2 separate regions of the Homo sapiens genome follow, and region 1 is linked to region 2. Evidence: promoter capture Hi-C in human tissues and cell types (Jung and others, 2019). All regions are on one chromosome and are shown on one strand. Each heading gives the region's core, a stretch centred on a gene start or on the middle of the fragment in contact. The rest is flanking DNA. Distances are from core to core; before and after follow the strand shown.

What was found. The method cuts DNA at HindIII sites, captures the fragments that hold promoters and counts their contacts. A contact is called where the count stands out against the background at its distance.
Region 1: a fragment that was not itself captured here is called in contact with the fragment with the promoter of DOK5 in region 2 in 1 of the 25 tissues and cell types used here (H1 embryonic stem cells).

What each region holds. Positions count from the first base shown.
Region 1 is chr20:54,211,275-54,218,291 of GRCh38, reverse strand. PFDN4 (prefoldin subunit 4) reads right to left here. Exons shown (of 4, transcript NM_002623.4): 2 at 3,834-3,941; 3 at 2,852-2,992. Among named protein-coding and RNA genes, the nearest start is that of PFDN4, 6.7 kb to the right of the region's middle. The HindIII fragment of the contact is 3,944 bases long and covers 1-3,642 here.
Region 2 is chr20:54,473,487-54,480,476 of GRCh38, reverse strand. It overlaps DOK5 (docking protein 5), which reads right to left and starts at 4,884. Exons shown (of 8, transcript NM_018431.5): 1 at 4,465-4,884. The coding sequence starts at 4,530. The HindIII fragment of the contact is 11,986 bases long and covers 1-6,990 here.

The sequences.
Region 1 (7,017 bases), core at 421-2,920, 260 kb after region 2:
TATAGATACTTAGCCTCTTCAATTCTAAAACCAGTTTTGTAATGTTAATGCTTCCCTCATTAATAGATTAAATAAATTTTAACATATACTCTTTGTTTTAAAAAAAAAAAAAAAAGCCATTAAGTTCCTTCCTGGCTAGGATCAAAACAATTTTTTTTCCTAAACATGACAAAAAAATATGAAATCACACAAACCAAATACCCACTAACATTAGAAACCAAAGAATATCTAATACTGACAGTGTTGCCGTTTTAGAAATCTAGCCAATGGTTCTCAAACGGTGGCCCCGAGACCAGTGTCAGGGACAAAATCACCTGGGAACTTGTTAGAAATACACATTCTGGGGCCCTACCTCAGCCCACCTGAAAGATCGTCTTTGGGTCGGGCCCAGCAACCTGGATTTTTAACAAGCCCTGTGGTGACTGTGATTCTCACGCATGCTAAGTTTGAGAATCACTGTTACAAAACAAGAAACAAAAATAAGACATATGGCTACTAGAAAGGGATAAATTCTAAATTTCTATACCGAGAAAACCTGGTTAATAAGTAAAATAAGACACTAGAAAGTCATTTTAATATCGCAAGTCCAATCATCTCTCTCTTTTCCAAAAATCTCTGAAGGCTCCTCTTTGCTCTGGGACGGGAGTGGGCAAACTATAGCCCACAGGCCCAATCTAGCCTGAAGCTTGTTTTTGTCAAGTTTTATTGGAAGACAGCCACGCAGATTCACTCATCTTGCTTTCATAGTAATTATGGCAGAGGCTGTGCAGCCCACAAAACCTAACGTATTTACTTCTGGCCCTTCACAGAAAGTTTGCTGACCCCTGCTAAGACAAAGTACAATTTCTTCAACTCAACTGACTGGAGTTCTCCAAGATGTGGCCACAATTTCAGGTGCTCCCAATCTCCAGCAAATACATCTTCTTGCAGGTCTATGTTTGCACCACCGTCATCCTATGGCCGTTCACACATGTTGCTTCTCACGACTAGAACCCCCCGCCCCCCGCCGCCCCTTTCTGGCTAATAGCCACTTATTCCTCAGCTGTTATCCCATCACTTTCCCTGGGAGCCCTTCCCTGACCCTTGATGTCCAGACTAGTGTAGATTCCTCTTCCTGTGTTCTTAAAGCCACCTCTATCCTCATATCACTTTCTACTCATTATCAGTTTTGTTTACTTTTTTTTCTTTCCATCTAGACTATATGCTCCATGCAGGCAGGGGCCAGGCAGGTTTTGTTGTCCCCAATTATCCCTAGTACATGGCAGAACCTGATACAGAGTAAGCACTCCATTCATTCTAGAATTCTAGAATGAGTAAAAAAAGAAAGGTTCAGCCGGGTGTGGTGGCTCACGCCTGTAATCCCAGCACTTTGGGAGGCTGAGGCGGGTGGATCACGAGCACGAGGTCAGGAGTTCGAGACCAGTCTGCCCAACATGGTGAAACCCTGTCTCTACCAAAAGTACAAAAATTAGCTGGGCGTGGTGGTGGGCGCCTGTAATCCCAGCTACTCGGGAGGCTGAGGCAGGAGAATTGTTTGAACCCAGGAGGCAGACGTTGCAGTGAGCCGAGATTGCGCCATTGCACTCCAGCCTGGGCGACAGGGCAAGACTCCATCTCAAAAAATAAATAAATAAATAAATAAATAAAATAAAATAAAAGTTCAGTAGCTATCTGTGTATGGGGCAGGGGATTCACAATAGCCACAAAAACCATAAGCTATCTGGGAATACTTCCAATAAAAATGTTTTTTAAATGGTTAAACAAATAAAAAGAACAAAAATCACAAAATTTGACCAAGAAGAAAAGATTTAAACATAAGGGAGACATATAAGATTTATGCATGGAAAGACCCAGGAGTGATAGTTCTTCTGAAGACTTACTAAATGTGGGTTTCATTCATACGAAGTTTTGCTTTTTATGACATTTGAAGAGAGACTATCATTTTAAGCAATCAGGTTAATTAGCAAAAGCATTAGGAAAGGTTTAATTGCCATCTGCTTCTCATAGACAAACAACGTGGCTGTCCCTCCCAAATAGTAAGAAGGCATGTGAACTGAAAATTTCATACCATGTATCAAATGTCTCAGATATTATCAGAGAACTCATATGCTGACTGACCCAGTAATTATATTTCTCTAATTATTTCCTCAAAACAATTTTCTAAATGTGAACAAAGATTTATGTAGAAGAATGCTCACAGTAACATTAGTACAGCAAAATATTGGAAACAAATTAATGCTAACAATAAGACCCGTGACCCCAATTGATAACCATCAACATGATATTAAACAGTCTTCAAAAACGATGTTTTTAAAGGCCTGTGTGCCAGGCTCAGAGCAGGCTTCCAATGAGTATCTGCTGGACAAACAAACATTCAATGAAACCAGCAAAAATGCTCCTCCTGGAACATTAATTGTCCCAACTGGGAAGCAAACTACACGGAGAGAGGCAGAGAGAACATAAAAGAAATACAGGAAAATGTTCACTATGAATGGTTACCTCTGCATAGCAGAATTACAGGGGATTTTTCTTTTCTGCTTCAATATATGCTATACCTTCTAAATACTTTTAGTTTTGAGCAAGGTTCTGGAGTCAGAAGACCACTGTCTATGTGTCACTTTGAATAAATCCCATAACCTCTCTAAGCCTCTATTCTTTGTCCCTAAATTGGGATAACAGGTCATCGTTATGATTCAACAAAATCCTGCTGGCAAAGCATTCGGAGCATGCCTGGGACATAACAAGGCAGTAAATATTAGCTATAGCTAGCATCTACTATTTCCCTACATCTATAATTACATGTTCTTTATAGTGATATAAATTCTAATTTCAGAATTAACCTTTAACATACCTTTGCTTCTTCTAACATTTCTTGCGTTTCTTCTTGAGAATGGCTAATGAAGACATCACCAATTTGATAAGGTATCATTAAGCAATCATCATCTGCAAGCATGATGTCATCACAAGCATCTTCTAGGTTTTGGAGTTGTTTCTATAAATGCAAAATGGCAAAGAAAATGTACTCAAAGTTCTCTGATAGAAGCTAAAGGCCAATTGTAATTTGGGGACAGCAACTCTCTGAGGGACCCTCTCACAAAGGTATTATTACCACATTAGAATAAGACCTTAATTTGTAACTTTTTAGAAGACATTTCACAAGCAAGCACTTAGAGCTACCTAAAGCTTTGTCCTCTGGACAATAAGCGCCCTGTGGTGGACAGCAGGCACATGGTCACTCAAAATTTCTTCTATTTTAACAATTTTTGACTTTGTGAATTCTGCCTTCCTACAAAAACAAAACCAAAAAAACCAGCCTACATTTCTCAGCCTTGCTTGCTGATAGGGTGTAAGTAAATCATGCGGGTAATGAAAGTTCTGCCAGCATGCATAAGTGATAATAACTTCAATTCCACCAATCAAATGCATTTGAGCTGGATTTCAACTCAAGGGGGACGGCTGGACACAGGCCCCAGATTTACTGGGGTAGGTGGCACTGGCAGCAGCAGCTTGGTGTTCCTAAGTCTGCAAGGGTGGCTTCCTCATTGGGAAGACAGCTGACTCTGGGATCAGTGGAGGCAACAGCTGTTCCACCGCCAGCCAAGTTCTCCGAGACTTGTTCCTGGAACCTCGGTCTAGACTCAAGCTCCTCAACAACTCTGTAAGTTATCGCATATCCCTTAAAAAAAAAATGACTTTCTGCTTAACTAGAGTGGATCGCGTCATTCATCTGCAACAAACAGCCCAGAGAAATATATATTCACTTGTTAACTGAGTTCAGTTTTAGTAGCTATAGTATAAAAAAATTTTATTCTTCTAATAATTATTTTCAATACCTTTTTTACTTCTATTTCTTCCTTCAGCTCTGTGATTCTACTTGTATTCCGTGCAAATTTGTTTATCTTTTGTTGATCTTCGAAAGTAACATTGACATCTTCTGCAGCCTGAAAGAAGTGTTTAAGTTTTTGTAAAATTTTAACGGAGAAGTTATCAGTTAGCTTTTTATATTTCTCAACAATAACTCAATAAGCCATTTGCACTCATATAGTCAAGAATCACAAGAAGTACAGAACATAACAAATGCCTTATTTTTTGCTCCACAAGCTTAAGGTTTGTTTGTAAATCTATAACCTTTTCTGATACTCCATAAAATAATTCCTAAGCTATAAACATATTGCAAACATAAAGAACAATTAATAAGTCCTTTTAAAAGGAAAGAAAAAAAGCCAACTTTTGGCACAGAGCAGAATTTCTCAAGTTGGAGCATTCTTTCATTAAGATGACCCAGGAAACAAAAAGTTACATGGTCAAATATATTGGTAAATGTCTCAGAGTAGTGTTTTTTTTTTCTTAGAGCTAAAACTTGCATGAGCTTACTGGCTAAAGGGTCACTGTACATTTCAGTGGCTCTATTCCATTCACAGCAAAAATTATGTTTATAATGTAGGACCTGTTTAAATGTCTTAATAAGGTCTACTTTACTAAAAAATGATGAAAATTGAATGTTTAGTATTTAAAAATTAATATTTAATGTGATTAAATTTACAAATTTGCAAATAAAGAGTACTTGGATAACATAAAGTACCAATGAAATAATAAAAAAATAGCTAACACTGATTGAATTTACTATGTGCCAAAACTTCCTAAGTACTTTATTATCTCTGCTAATCCTGCAATCCATCTTATTAGGGAGGATCACCAGCACTATTTTACAGATTGAGAAACTGAGGTACACTTTATATAATATGGCCAAAGCCACAGAGCCAGTAGGTGGTGGAACTTGATTTCAACCCAGGCAGACTGGCTTCAGAGGTCAGACAGGTCCATGAGTTCTCGGTAACTGAATGTGAACGTGCGTCTCTGTGAGTGTGCACGTGTGTGTGTGAGTGTGTACACAGGCTTAGGCACATCTGGAAGAGGCAGCAGGATGTCTGCTTTCATCAGATTCTCAAGGAGGTACCATATATTTTTAAAAAATAAAGCTAAAACATAAAACCAGACTCTCCTTAGGGTTTCCCTTCCATTTATAAAATGAAAACCAGAGCACCTGATTCTAGTTTAAAGAAGAAAAGATATTTGTGTGTGTATAAAAATAGTTCATACTGAAACACTACTTTTGGCTCTTTTGCAGTAACAGTAATGAGCTCACAACATTCACACTCCATCCCTGACCTGGTCTCTCATGACCATCGACTTAAGGTATGTGAACTTTTATTTCTCAGAGGTTGAAAGGCAGTGTCAAGCAATACAGAGCTCAGTGGTCGGAATATAACACAGTCCTCCCCTTTGTTAGGCTCTCATTCCAAGAAACAATTTCACATGCATTATGCCCCACCTCAACAACCCAGAAGATAGCCTGAAAAAATCCTTTACATCACACTATGTCTAGCTTTGAGTGTTCAACCGTATGCATAATTTTGATGAATATGGAAGTTGGGGAACACTGAGCTACGCTCAAGAAACCAAAGTCTATATCTTGGCACACAAGTCATTTTGCCTAAGTGAGAACTGTCAATTCCCTACGCAAATAGACAGCAGAGAATTCTGAAGAGTTCCTGTTTGCCTGAAGAGTATATGCCATTTTGTTTAAATATTGAACCCCCAACAGGCATTTATAGATGTATTTGTCTTGGTGAGGGCTCAACAGAGCCATTCACATGAACGGATCCAGTGCAGGACTGCCTGGCACATAACTAAGGCTAATACATGGTTTCTGAATTTGAATCTAAATCATGCTTGATCAGACTCAAACACATAGTTTCCAAAATGTGGTAGAGAGAATTTGGCTATCTGCTTTCTGTCTTTCCAAAGCAGGAATTTCCTGTTGTAGCCCCACCAAACCACAGGCATCAGCACACATGTGGCCCCTGGTATCCAGATCTTTACAGTGGTTTTCCCACTGGGGTTAAGGGCTAAAGTTGATGTGTGAGTCAAATATACTGCATGCCGCCCAGTGGAGTGCCATTTACAGCAGACAGTAAGATGTCAGTGCCTTTGATGGCTAACAGAGGCTTCTGTTTTAGTCTCACTGTCCTAGAACATTCCTACATTTCTTGAAGCTGCATTTTGGCAAGAAGTGGGTAATTTTTTTTTTTTTTTGGTGAGACAGAGTCTCACTCTGTCGCCCAGGCTGAAGTGCAGTAGCATGATCTTGGCTCACTGCAACCTCCACTTCCCGGGTTCAAGCCATTCTCCTGCCTCAGCCTCCCAAGTAGCTGAGATTACATGCACATGCCACCATGTCCGGCTAATTTTCGTATTTTTAGTAGAGAAGGGGTTTCACCATGTTGGCCAGGCTGGTCTTGAACTCCTAACCTCAGGTGATCCACCAGCCTCGGCCTCCCAAAGTGCTGGGATTACAGGCTTGAGCCACCACGCCCAGCCAGAAGTGGGTAATTCTTAACTGGGGGGTGGGGGTGGTCAATGGACATTGACAGGTCGATATACCCAGAGACTGTATGCAAAATGGCATGTATAGTATGTGCATCCTTCTGGAAGGTCTTCATAGCTTTCACCAGATTCTCAAAGGGATCCACAACCCCAAAAGGTTAGGAACTCCTGCCTTCAGGGAAACCAGCTGTAGCTACTCTCAAAGTCAGAAGAACTCTAGGAAGAACTCATATCCTATAGTATCTGAGGCAGCACACAGAGTGGTGGGAAGAGTCAGGCTGCAATCCAATCCAAGCAAACAGGAACCTTGGGCAAATTACCCAATTCTTTGGAACCACCTCAGGTTTCTCATCTGTAAAATGGAGAGGCTAGTTCCTACCTTATAGGGTTGATAAAATGAACATGTAGGAGAAAGCCTGATGATGGAGTCAGTCAAATGATAGCTAAGCATTTTACATCCTGAATATTGTTTATCAAAAATCATTACAAAGAACAGATCCAGATCTAGAAAGAAATTCTGCTAGGCCAAAGAGAAATATGCCTGCTCGGGATCCAAAGTAAAAATTAAAATTCCCTGGGCTCTTTTCTTGAGAACTAATATCTTACGGGATTAGAGGAGGAAACTGAACC
Region 2 (6,990 bases), core at 3,635-6,134:
CCCCTTTTCAGACCAAGGGTAACTTCCTGACGTTGCCATGGCATCTGTAAACTGTCATAGCACTGGTGGGGGTAGCGCCACGTAGCAGTGAGGAAAACCAGAGGTCACTCTCATGGCCATCTTGGTTTTGGTGGGTTTTGGCTGGCTTCTTTACTGTAAACTGTTTTATCAGCAAGGTCTTTATGACCTGTATCTTGTGCCGACCTCCTATCTCATCCTGTGACTTAGAATGCCTTAACTGTCTGGGAATGTAGCCCAGTAGGTTTCAGTCTTGTTTTACCCAGCTCCTATTCAAGATGGAGTTGCTCTGGTTCACACGCCTCTGACAGCTTCAGCAGCCAGGTGACATGACCTTTCTTACATTTCCAAAGGAACACTTTACTGTATTGAGAAGGCACTAGCGGGAGCAAGAGTGTAGGCAGGAAGTCAAATGAGAAGACTGTTGCAATGTTACAGGGAGGAGATGAGGAGGGTTCGGACCAGGGTCGTAGCAGTGGATAGCGTGAGGTGACAGCCGGATTCTAGATATATTTCAAAGATACAGCCCACAAGATCTCCTGATGGATTGCCTGTAGGGGTGGGAGATGAGGGGAGAAGAGTGAAATGACACCAAGGTTCGCTTGTGATTTTTACCTTCGCAACCAAAATGCTGGGACCTCTAGTGGCTAAGATGGAGAGGACTCTAGGAGCAGCAGGTCTGTGAGTCATCCAAGTGGAGATGTGGGATAGACAGGAGAATTTACATGAGTGGAGGTCAGAAAAGAGGTCCAAGCTGCTAAGTCCTTGGTAGACAAGAGCACAGAAATGTCACTTAAAGGCAAGTAACTGAGGGATTGTGCGTAGATAAATAAACCCGAGTTTCCGTTCTGAAACTTGCACTGTGGGCAAGCCATGACAATGATTGATTGGAAAATCATCTCCATTGCAAGGAAAGAAACGAAGTGAGAATTGTTATATGATGCTATCTAAGTCACACATTCAGCAGGTTAATGTTGTACAAATTGCCTGATTTGCCTCTCCCCTAAAAAGAAATTTTTAGTGCATTTAATCGATTACTCAAATAATTATGGACAGCTGCTCCCCTCCTTCCCCCAGCCCCTCAAATAGTAACGTCGACATTCCTGAACAAATTCAGTACCCAGGGCACAGCTGGAGACCTCCAGGAAACAATGGGGATTAAGCTGGGGAATACAGATGTGAAGATACTGAAACTTTTGAGTTAAATGAATTATATTTCATTAAGCTTTTTGATGTCTAAAGAAGAGAATAAATCTATACATATTTGATTGCTTAATCATTTAAACTCTTTAGGATTTCAAATGAAGGTGACCACTTATCTGTGACCCATTTGAATGGGAATGTTTTTAGAATGTTTCCTGTCCTGTTAAAAAATCACATATATAAATATACGTATATTATATATTATACAATATGTACATAGGTTGTATGTATATATTTATTCCTATGTATAAAAATACACACACATACACATATATGTATATAATTTGTAAAAGTTTCATCCATTGAAAAAATCTGGAGCTGCATAAACATTTATGCCTTTGTACACTTCTACATAGAAAGAGAAGGAAATAGATAATTCCTATATCCGTCTACCAATCCTAACTCATCTTTGATTAAAGAAAATGATACAAGCAGAATCAATGTTCTAGACTTTCATTGCATTTTCACAAATATCTTCTTTAATGCTCCCAAGAACATTAAATAGTGTTCATTGTACAGACTAGGAAACTGAGGCCAAGAAAGGTCAAAGGTCAACAAGCAATAGAAGCAGAATGCGTTCCCTTCTCCTCTTTCTCCAAATCTGAAGAAGCATTTATTCCTTGGCACCAGGAACAGCTGCTTACCATGAAATGTTTTTGTATTTAATTATAAACCGTCCCAAACATGGTCTGGATTCCATTAATAAATGCTGTTGTATTAGTTCCTAAAGGTTATAAATGGCAAGACCATCCATGCACTATATAGTTCAGCACATATTTCAACATGAACTTACCAAGTGTCTACTCTGTGCTAGACAAAATAAATGCCCTACCTCTCTTTGAGACTGGCACATATTCCTAGAAGATACATGTCGCATGCTGTTCTAGACTATATGTAGCCTAGATTAATACCGCTAACATTCCTTACTGTGGACATAGGGTCCCCATGCCAATTCCGTACAGCATCCTTCACCAATATTTGCAGCCTCCATTAAAACTTTGGTTTGCACTGTGTTCTGGCAACTATGTAATCAGCCTCTTTTGTAAATCATACCATAAGAATATTTTAAAAATTAACTGGTGAGAAAACCAATGCTAACAAATAAGACCAGATTTACTTGATCATATTTTTGACCTTTTCTCTCCATGAGCAATAACCATAATTCAATAGATATTCTGAAGTCTGAACGTGAACACAGACAAAAAGAATAAATCTTGAGAAAGTATACTGCTCATTAGCATCCAAAATGCTGTAAAACATAAAACAAATACAAACTAAATATTTCTGTTCCTTCTGCTTCAAATATCTGTCCATAAATGTTGGCACACACATAGGGCTATGTTGTGTCAATTGTAATAATCTAGAAAAAATAATCTCAGTTACCACAAACAAGAAAGTGATGGTAACCAGTTTTTCAAATAAATTACCATGTGTCACAATTTGGCATAAACTCTGATCCTTATGAATAATTCATATTTTGTGCATTAATAATGCATGTCCTCTTCCCATTGGAATGCTCCCTAACACAGAATGGATGTCTCATACCAATTCCTTCCATTGACATGATGGAGTAAAGCTAAATTAGAATGCTGGGTTTTTTTTTTTTTTAACTTAACTCCCCTTAAAATTGTAACACTTGGCCAGCCTATAAGCATACCAAAAATAGAAAGTTCCCATTATTGTTTGCCCCTTACATGGGAGTCACTCAGTAAAGTACCCCCAACAATGGGTGCTCTTGAAGATGAGAATATTTGCATAGCAGAAAAGAAAACCAAGGAAACTTTGGCAGAGCTGATGGAAATGGTGAATTCTGTTACATTTCTCCCTAATTACATATGTATATATTCACAATAACACAGGACATAATCGCTAAAACATGGTCACCAGCAGGGGAGAAAAAGAAAAGAAAAAGACCAAAACGAATTAGGCAAGAGTTTTATAATAATTGCGGATGTTCCTCCCCACAGGGCTTCCCTCCCTAGCTGAGTTTACTACTGTGAAATTTCTTTTCAGTTTTCAGTAAAAGTATCTGGCACATTAAAACAGTCCAAAGACCAAGTAAGAGAAAGATGCCAAATGACACATATTTCTAAAGAAAGCTATTCAATTTACCACTCATTATCAATGGCGGCATTCCACACGATTACTGACATTATACTTATTTCAGGCATTACACCAAAGGATATTTTCTCCCCCCGCCCCCGCCACCTCTCCACCCCCACTTTTCACCCCTTATGTCCAAACGCACAGGATCAACTAAAACAGCGACAACACTTGATAGGAGGCAAAGAGAAATGAGGGACCTAGTTTGAAATTTTTAGGAAATAAAAAAATCGTTCCAGTATCTTCCCTCTCCCTCAAGAATTCTTCCACCATCATTCAGTCCCAAGGAGAGGAAGGGTAGGTTCTCTTTTGAAGCCTCCTCCAGCGAAGAGCCAAGAGAGAAAGGGGCGAAAGAGAGGGAGTTTTAAGGAAGGAGCTAGCCTGTGTCAACATCTGTCCCAAGTGCCCTAAGATTCATTCATTCTTCCTTTCAGGACATATGTAGGGAGCACTTGCGCTATGCCAGGTATCAGGTTCCACGTAAATAACCCTTCCGTGGACCTCCAGGGTGTATTCCAGCAACAGAAATCCACCACCCCGGCTTCGAACCACGGAAAATCCAGATTCAAGTATCTACCCAAGTTGGCCCCGACCAGAGGCCAGCCCGCACCGCCTTTGACACGACACCTGGGACAGAGGTGGGGGGATCCAAAGACACCTTACGCTTGGCAGAAATCTCTCCCTGGGGTCAGAGGGTTCGTGACCTCGTTCACACCGAGTATGCGTGTCCTCTTTCTCAACCAGCCGATCCATCCCCCGGAAAAGTTAAGTTGGCGGCGAGTGGGAAAAGAGGGGAACCGGGGGCATCCGGCAGGCACCCCCGCCCGGGCTTCTCAGCTCCAACTTCCATGGCTACCGAGAAATATTTATTTCGAGTAGATGGGCTCCAGGGGCTACTGAAGCCCAACACGCGGCCACCATCAGAAAGCCAAGTCATCCAAGAGATAAAGATAGATCCATTACATACCTAGACGCTGGCCTTACAGTGACAGCCCCGGAGACGCGGGTTTCGGCTGAGAAAGCCACCGCGCAATTCTCCGGCGCGCGGCCGGGGACTCTCCGTCCACCCTCCAGGGATGCTGGCTCAAGAGAGAGACAATCGAACCGGCGAACAGCAACACGGAGAGGATCGATACTCACCCCGAGGCGTCTGCTCCGGATCCTCACGTACCCTTGCTTCACTATGTCATTAAAATTGGAAGCCATCCCAGACAGCCGGTGACCCCCCCTTTACCCAAGAGCGCGCACCCGAAGTGGCTCTGGGGAGGGTGGAGGGCAGGGTCAAGACAAGCAGTCGGTGGGAGAAAGTTGGAGAGGTGAAGCTGCTTCGGCGGCGCTGGGCGAGGCTTTAGAAGGCGCACATCACTTTCTCTGTCCCCCCAACCCTGACAGTGGGCGGCCGGCTTGCAGCCACTTTCGGGGAGCGCAGAGCGCGGCGCGGGGAGGCGAGGCTGGAGCGCCGGCGTCAGCTGACTCCGCGGCCGGCCTGCCAGGAGGAGGAGCGGCGGCGGCTGAGGGATCCAGCCCTGCCTCCTCCCGGCCGAGAAGGAGGAGAAGAAGGAGGAGGAGGAGGAGGAAGGAGGAGGAGGAAAGAGGAGGAAGGGGTGGGGGGCTAAGAGGAGGAGCCGCGCGAGTCCCAGCACTGGGCTGCGGCCACCCGTGAGCAGCCGCCCTGGAACGCTCCCCGCGCCTCCCACCCACCTTTCCCTCCCCGCTTCCCCTTCCGATCCCTCCCCTCCTGGCGGACCCGGAGCGTGCCCCCGCCACCCCCGCACCTCGCCCACAGCCTACTGAGATAGCGCTCGCTCTCCTCGCTCCAATGACTTATTTTAGGAGGAGAGGAAATTTCACTTTTTTCCAGCCGCCGCCCACCCCGCCTCCCCCTTCAGCCCCTGCCCTTTCCCCGAGAAGGGCCGATTTTGCGTGTGTGTCTGGGGAGATGGTGTTGCCGCGGCTCGCCTTGACCTTGGCATCTGAGGAGAGGGATATTGTCACCGCTTAAGCCAAATGCTTCCTTGGGTTTCCTTGTGTCAGGGACCTAGCCCTCGCTGGTATCATTTGCCACAGTTTCCCTGTTTCAGCCTCTTTCCCGCCGGAATGTGTTTCCCAGGGGGCTGAGACTTGGCCTCATCACTGTCTGTCCCCAAAGCCTGACCCCAGAGCAAGTGCTCAGTAAATCCTTGTGGTTATCAAGATGGCCACCTAGGTGCCAGGCACTCTCCAAGCCTTTTGCATGGATTGACTCATTCAAACTCCCCTGCACTTTTTGAGGTAGGTGCCCTGTTAATGTATACACCAGGCCCATATTTAATTAAGCCTCCTTAGCCTGGCAATAGAGCTCTCATTGCCATTATGAGATACTGCCTATACAATAAGATGAAGAAGGGGACTGAATTTCACACTCACCTGCCCCTGACTGCATTACCTCCCTAAAGCATACTTGATTGATAATTGCTAACACACATTGAGCACCAGTGTGCTGGGCATTGTGCTAATCTTGTTAAGGGAATAATGAATTAGGCACCAGCATCCACATTTTACAGACTTGCTAAGGTCTCACAGCTGGCCACTATCAGAGCTAGGATTGAAGGGAGGTGTGTGTAGTGCCCAGCTCTGCTCCTAAACATTCTCCTATTCCTCTTCTGAAGAGAGGATCTCACAGAAAGAGAGGTTACTAGTTGATTTCCAAGGAAGATCTTTCTAATCATTTGCACTATTCACAAAGGCAAAGATAATCATCAGAAATTAGACAAAAATTCTTACTCACTGGGAAGCGACAAAGCTAAAGCTAGAGATCACTGCTCAGAGCCATTGAGAAGAGGATTCAGTTAGTAGTGGATTGTTTGACCTGATGACATCCACAGGTCTTTCAACTCTAAGACGATATGAATCTTCCCATTCTCACTGGGAACATTAGCTTTTAGTCACCTTGGCTTGATGAGTTTCAGTTAAAGAACAGAAACCTCCAAGAATGTGTCATAGGAGAACCGAGACTAAATGGGGACAATCAAAAAGGAGATATTCTGGCAGGGAGAACTATTTTTGCTACATAGTAAACCATCTGTCTTCATGTTGCCATTCTATGGAAAATGATGTTTTAATTTTAAATCTCTCACCAAAAGAGATGAAATGGTAAAATCATTTGGAGAGCTCCTTTTGAAGGATTGGAACTTAAAAAAAAAAATGCTGCCCATGGTTGCTGTAAAATAGAGGTGTTCATGGAAGGCATTTATCTAACACATCATTTATAGACCAAGTCCACAGTATTATAGAAACAAAAAATGAAGAAATTAAGGCATAAGGAGCTTGAAATGAAGGGCCCACAATAACGGAAATAATTACTGACAAAAACTGAAGGCGAGAAATCCATCCCTTGATAGTTAATGCTGACTATAATCAACATCCATAGATAATTTAACTGGAGCTGAGGAAACTAGAATCAAACCAGAAAATATCAAACTAGACGTGAAGGAACAAATGATTTCTTTTTTAAATTGCAAGACTGAATCCAATATATGGTTTTGTTTGGTGAAATCCAATTGACATACATGCAAAACGTACAGACTGTGATATACTATTCATAGGACATTTACACTTGTCCAAATTGTGCAATACAAGCCCTGGCAGCAAGAGCAAAGAGACTGGGCACAGTGGCTTACGCCTGTA